Regions from separate parts of the Homo sapiens genome. Here region 1 is linked to region 2. The links are contacts of gene promoters, found by promoter capture Hi-C in blood cells and fetal thymus (Javierre and others, 2016). All regions are on one chromosome and are shown on one strand. The core of a region is centred on a gene start or on the middle of the fragment in contact, and the rest is flanking DNA. Distances in the headings are between cores, read along the strand shown.

The links. The method cuts DNA at HindIII sites, captures the fragments that hold promoters and counts their contacts. A CHiCAGO score of 5 or more calls a contact.
Region 1: a contact is called between the fragment with the promoter of MED17 here and the fragment with the promoter of TMEM126A in region 2, in 4 of 17 cell types (total CD8 T cells, naive CD4 T cells, non-activated CD4 T cells and 1 more). The highest score is 7.3, in total CD8 T cells.

Annotation. Positions count from the first base shown.
Region 1 is chr11:93,782,884-93,786,346 of GRCh38, forward strand. MED17 (mediator complex subunit 17) reads left to right here and starts at 1,399. Exons shown (of 12, transcript NM_004268.5): 1 at 1,399-1,880. The coding sequence starts at 1,631. RefSeq lists enhancers at 1,220-1,514, 1,456-1,675 and silencers at 1,806-1,935, 1,937-2,131. The HindIII fragment of the contact is 2,360 bases long and covers 41-2,400 here.
Region 2 is chr11:85,646,385-85,649,703 of GRCh38, forward strand. TMEM126A (transmembrane protein 126A) reads left to right here and starts at 1,583. Exons shown (of 5, transcript NM_032273.4): 1 at 1,583-1,705. RefSeq lists enhancers at 1,344-1,393, 1,564-1,833. The HindIII fragment of the contact is 2,186 bases long and covers 1,504-3,319 here.

The sequences.
Region 1 (3,463 bases), core at 149-2,648, 8.1 Mb after region 2:
GCTAAGCAGCTAGTTTTGATCTTGAAGACTTGGTGGCAAAAGCTTTGCTTATTCTAGGAATCATAATCATTTGTTGTTGTCTTGTTTTTGTCTGCACTATTAGACTGCCACTGCGCCTGGCTATTAATCAGATTTTAAAATAAAGTTAAAAAAAATTTTTAAACAAATTTACACGAAAAGCAAGTACAGTGGTTCTCGAACATGATTGGGCGACAGACTGTACAGCTTGCCAGAAATAGGTTTCTCTCATGAAAATTCAACCCCCTCCACACACGGCCATCTACTTTCTTCTTCAGCAGGGACTGACACCAGGGCAACCGTATTTTCCTAAATACCTTAGGAAAGTAGTTCAAAACCTAGATATATCTTGGTCAGAACAAAACCTGGCAAACACTCATGATAAACGGTATATATAATTCCTTAAACGAAATATAGAGGTTTGTAATATAAAATAATCCATCTTTGTCTGTGGAATTCCTACTAATGAAATACGTTCTTGGAGACCCAAAGACTGAAGTTATACCACTTCTTCTTAATCTTTTAAATATTATTTGCAGGCCAGGCATGGTGACACGCTCCTATAGTCCCAGCTCCTCAGGAGGCTAAGGCAGGAGCATCGTTGGAGCCCAGGAGCTCCAGGCTGTAGCGTGCTGACAGCACTTGTGAATAACCTCTGCACTCAGCCTGGGCAACATAGTGGGACCCCATCACTAATAAAAAAGCGAGATCAACATTATTTATTCTGTTACTCGGGCATAAAATAAATATTAAGCACTTACTACATGCCAGAGTCTATTATGTCTGCTGCAGATATTGGCTGTCATAGAGTTATAACTAACAGGAAACCAAATAATTACGTAGTATAATTTTAAGTGGTGATAAGCACGATTGTTTCCCCCAAGCCATGCCCTTAATTTCTAACTCTTCAGATAGTGTTTCTTTAAAAAATTTCTTGCTAATTTAAAATAACTTTTGTTTTGAGGCAGGATCCCACTCTGTTGCTTAGGCTGGAATGCAGCGGTGAGATCTCGGCTCACTGCAGCCTCCATCTCCAGGGCTCAAGCCATTCTCCCGCCTCAGCCACCCGCGTAGCTGGACCACAGGCGCGCGCCACCAGATCTCAGTTCTCTCAACAGGACTCTCATTGCTAAGATCCAAGGATCCATTAATTTCCTTTTCCTTAACTCTTCTAGCCTCTGCAGCTTTCTTTCCTCATCCACTTTTTAAACAAACGCAGGCTTAAAAAGCAAGGAATATACCCGCCACACTCTCGGCTCCCAAACCGCTCTTTCCCTCCCTCTGCCGGCCACGCCTCTTATAGGCCCGGAAGTTTACCCCACCCTGCACCGTGATTCACCGGAAGCGCTCTAGGGAACCCTGGAGCTTCCGCGCCTGCCCAGTTTTGCTCCGAAAGACTTACCGAGGAGGGAGCTTGCGGTGCGTTCTGGGAAAGTTGCTGGGCCAGCTCCTTTGTTTCCAGTCTGAGCGTTGCGTTCGGTTTCCCGAGGGTCTTCTGAGGCACCGCGGCTGCGGGCTTCTGAGTTCCCGGCTCTCCGCAGGGAAGCCTCCTCTTCGTACCTCGTTTTTTGGCTCGTGGGGGGTCCTCCCACCGCTGGCCGACGCAGCCAGCATGTCCGGGGTGCGCGCAGTGCGGATCAGCATCGAATCGGCCTGCGAGAAGCAGGTCCATGAGGTGGGCCTGGATGGCACCGAGACGTACCTGCCCCCGCTGTCCATGTCGCAGAATCTGGCGCGTCTGGCCCAGCGGATAGACTTCAGCCAGGGTTCGGGCTCCGAGGAGGAGGAGGCGGCGGGGACCGAGGGCGACGCGCAGGAGTGGCCGGGCGCCGGGTCCAGCGCAGACCAGGACGACGAGGAAGGTAAGGCCTGCATCCGCTGCCCGAGTCCCCCGGTCTGGGTCCCAGCACCCGCGCGGGCCTCCGCCTCTCCCGCGATGGGGGTGATCTTGTGCGTGCGAGAACTTTTGAGTGTCCCTCTAGCGGAAGCGTAAGGATACTTGGTCGTCATCTTTTTGTTGCTGCCGGACAAGGTAGGACACGACTTTACGTAATACTCCTGCGGGTCTCCTTGAATGGCAGCGTTTAGAGACACTGTCAAACCGTGAAATGTTTAAATGAATGCTTCTCTGTAGAGGGCCTTTAATGTAGCACACTTAGTGGCTAAAAGAGCCCTAGATCGGGGCTCTGCCCCTTGCCGGCTGTGTGACCTTGGGCGAGTTACTTTGCATCCTTGTGCGGTGTGAATGATGATAGTAGCACCTGCAGAAAAGAGGTCTGTTTTGACTGAAATGTGTGACGAGGTCCAAGAGGTAGGCGGGTCCAGATCATGTAGAACCCAGTAGGCCGGGATAAGCGTTTGACTAGTGTTAAGACCACTGAAAGCTTTTGCAGGATAAGTAGAGATGGTTTTGTTAAAGTTTACTCTAGATGCTTTCTAATAAATGAATTATAGGGAAAGCAAAACTGGAAGGGAGGAGACTAGGAGGGAAGTGAAGAAATAATGAGTGGGTTTCAGATTCTCATTATTGTCAAGGATTTTTGAAAAAAAAATCAAAATTCTTAATTTAGTTATGCAGCACACCCAGTGTAAATGGGAATTTAAAGATGTCATTTCAGGGCAGTGCTGTTAGGATTATTAGGGGTCTATTTGCAAAAAAAGGTAAATACTACTTTATACCTCACACAAAAATTATTTCCACAGTAATTTTTGAGGATTGAAGTGCCAAATGAAGAAAGTAAAACAAAGTGTTAGAAGAAATAATGAAAGAATAGTTGTATTATTCTGGGAGTCGGATAGATCTTCTTAATTTCGGAAATAACAGGACAGGCATGGTGGCTCACACCTGTAGTTCCAACATTTTTGGAGGCCAAGGTGGAAGGATCACTTGAGCCCAGACTTCAAGACCAGCCTGAGCAACATAGGGAGCTCCTGCCTCTACAAATTAAAAAAATTAGCTGGGCGTGGTGGTGCACGTCTGTGGTCCCAGCTACTGGGGAGGCTGAGGGAGGAGGATGGATTCAGCCAGTGAGATCAAGGCTGCAGTGAGCTATGATTGTGCCACCGCACTCCAGCCTGGGTAACAGAACAAGACTCTAACATCCACACACACAACCACACACCTACCTACCTTACAAAGTATAGATATATTACTTACATAAAATTTAAAAATAATGGGAAAAGATGCCATAAGCAAAGTAAAAAGATAAATGACAGACTGGGAGAAGTTCTACACATATAACACAAATTTAGTTGATATCTTCTCTATTCAAAAAGTCCCTTCAGACTGAAAAGAAAATAATGACACTTTGGAAAAATAGGCCAAAGGTATCTGAAGGCTCATAGAGGAGAGACTTCAGATACCAATAAACAGAACATAGACTCAATCTCATTACTAGGGACTGGGAAATTAAAACATGATTAAGATACTCTTTCCATGCACAAA
Region 2 (3,319 bases), core at 333-2,832:
CCGAGGCTGGGCACGGTGGCTCACGCCTGTTATCCCAGCACTTTGGGAGGCCGAGGCGGGTGGATCACGAGGTCAGGAGATAGAGACCATCCCGGCTAACACAGTGAAACCCCGTCTCTACTAGAAATACAAAAAAATTAGCCAGGCGTGGTGGCAGGAGCCTGTAGTCCCAGCTACTTGGGAGGCTGAGGCAGGAGAATGCTGTGAACCCAGGAGGCGGGGCTTGCAGTGAGCCGAAATCACACCACTACACTCCAGCCTGGGTGACAGAACGAGACTCAGTCTCAAAAACAAAAAAAAAAATCAGCTGATCAGCTGGGCGTGGTGGCACACGCCTGTAATCCCAGCTACTCTGGAGGCTGAAGCAGGAGAATCGCTTGAACCTGGAAGGCAGAAGTTGCAATGAGCTGAGATCAGGCCATTGCACTCCAGCCTGGCCGACGAGAGCAAAACTCTGTCTAAAAAATAAAAAATAAAAATAAAAAAAAGACTAGGAATTTTCCTTCTTGTACACCTTCGTGAAAATAAGTCTTTCTATTTGTGCAAGTTTAGAAACTGCAATTACAGACTTCTTGGCACTATGGAGCCTAATGGTCAAGCAACCCTGCAATGGAGAGACAGTATAAAAATTATCTGGACAATGCAACACTTTATCACTTGTTCAGAAATTTGAGAGGATGAGAATAATTAAGATTTCTGATAATGTGTTATGATCATGTATTTATTGCTACAGTTAGTTATATATTTTTTGGCACAATGTTTACCTGCTAATCTTAATGGAGTTAAGATAAAATTCAATTGTAGGCATTTTTCCCTTCTATTGGGTTAATTAGTCCAAGCGAACTGAGCAAAGGTTGCAGGGAGCCCCAGCATGGCTGAGGAAGACCTGGTGAGGCATCCACTGGCTGCTGGGAGGAGAGCATTAGAGGTACCTTCTGAACAGCACTGTCCAATAGAAATATAATGCAAGCCACATATATAATTCTAAATTTTCTAGTATTTATACTTAAAAAGCAAGAAGAAATAAGATGACTTTCACCCAACACTGCTTCCAAATAAGCAGTACTCTGGAGAACACGAGAAATCCTCAGAAAAATAAGCTGCAGCTCTGAGGTGCTGATTATGGTAGGGCAATCAATACAGATCAAAACATGGCACAGGGAGCTTAAGTTCCTAGGGAGAGTAGAAAATCGATAGAGCCAAGAAATAGCTCACCTTTGACTTATTTTTAACCTGAGTAGCTATCATATGCCAAGAGCTGTGCAGTTTTCATTTACCCCATGCCAAGAACGTAAGTAGGCTCTACTGACCAGGAAGTTAAGTAATATGCCCGAGGTACGTTTTCAATGGAAGAGGCTGACTGAGGGTCACCCAACTTATATCTCGAAATTTCACAATTTCTACAAGTTCTGTCCTGGGAGGCAAGAGTAGGTGAAACGAGCACACTCTACGCCAGGCAAACAAACCTCAACGCTTAGCCTCCCGGCACCTCCTAGGGCCGGAAGCTTCTCAGCCCAAAGCCGCTGCTGGCTGCAACCTCCGTCCCGCAGTCCAATTAGCAGCCGCGACCCGGCGCCCGCCCACGCCGCGTCACGAGTCAGCCAAAGATGGCTGCGCCCAGGTAATTTGAGCAAAGGCCACAGTGAACTCCGGCGTGGCTGAGGAAGGAGGAGGCACCCACAGGCTGCTGGGAGGAGAGCATAAGGTACTGGTATTCCGGGGGAGGGGGTGAAGTAAATGTCCCGGTGTCAGGAGAAGCACGACGCGGTGACACGCTAGCTACCAGCAGCGCTGCGCGTAAATGAGAGCAAGTAGAAGTGTAGTTAGCTCTTCCTGCTGTCTTTTCACTTTGCACTCTAGAAGGAAAGACCTTATATTTAAATTAACTCAGTAGAAAGGAGAAATGCCTGAGATTGAATTTAATCCCAGGTTTACTGTCAATTTACAAGGTGACCACGGCCAAATTTGATTTTCAGAGGTCCCACTTTACTTCTCTTTCAGATAGGCCCCACACTGCCTATCTCTCAGAGCTCTTCCAAGAATGACATGAGATAGGTAACACAAAAATCTTTCGAAATATTTGTAGTTTTTACAGGCGGCGTTGTCTTTGATAGATATTTGTTATTAATATCGGAGACAAAATGCCCACAGGGGCTGCCCAGTCAGCACTTATACTGAATTGAGTGACTTAATTGCCCTCAGTACAATATATACATACTAAATTTGATTATATATTTCACCACCCCATACACAAAATCATTCAGAGCTCCTGTACAGCAGAGATTGTGTCTTATCATCTTATCGTAGCCAAGGCCCTCAAAAATTTGACTACCAGAAACCTAGACATAAATTTCTAAGGCTGCTTTGTACTTATTAGGTTAGCTTTAAGTCTAGAGATATGGAATGTCAAGGTAATCAACATTTCCAAATGACCTCTTATCGATATAAAACAGGTAGCAATAAATATTTAAACGAGTGCCTGTAATGTTGTAGGAAATGAGAAAATCTGGTTTCATAAAAGCATGTTTTCCTTTGTTGTTATCCCTGAACTGTTTTTTTTTTTTTTTTTGTAGACCGAGTCTCGCTCTCACCCAGGCTGGAGTGCAGTGGCGAGATCTCGGCACACTGCAACCTCCACCTCCCAGGTTCAAGCGATTCTCCTGCCTCAGCCTCCCGAGTAGCTGGGATTACAGGCAGCTGCCGCCGTGCCTGGCTAATTTTTGTATTTTTAAAAGACAGGGAGTTTCACCATGTTGGCCAGGCTGGTCTCGAACTCCTGACCTCAGGTGATCCGTCTGCCTTGGCCTCCCAAGGTGCTGGGATTACAGGCGTGAGCCACTGCATCCAGCCTTTGTTTTTCTTAACTGTTACCCTGAAACCTGAGCCAAATCTTCATCATTCACCATTCCCTTCACATTTTCACCCTAACTAGTGCAGACATCAACAAACTACTGGCATGTAGGCCATATGCAGCCTATAGCTTGCCTTGGTACAGCCACCCAGCTAAGAATGATTTTTATGTTTTTATAGTTTTTTTAAAAACAAATATTCAACAAAGGCTGTATGTTACCTGCAAAGCCTACCACATTTACATCTGGCCCTTTAAAGTTTGCTGAGCCCTGATCTCAGGTATACCTAGAAATGAAATTGCTAGCTATGTGTGTCTTCTATCTGCTAAATAATACCAAATTCTTTCCCAAAGTGACTGTACAGTTTGGGTAAAGCTACCCCACAGAATGTACACAGAATGTAGTTTTAGCTACCCCGCATTCTTGCCAATAATTGGAATTGTCAGATTTTGATTTTAGCTAACCTATGG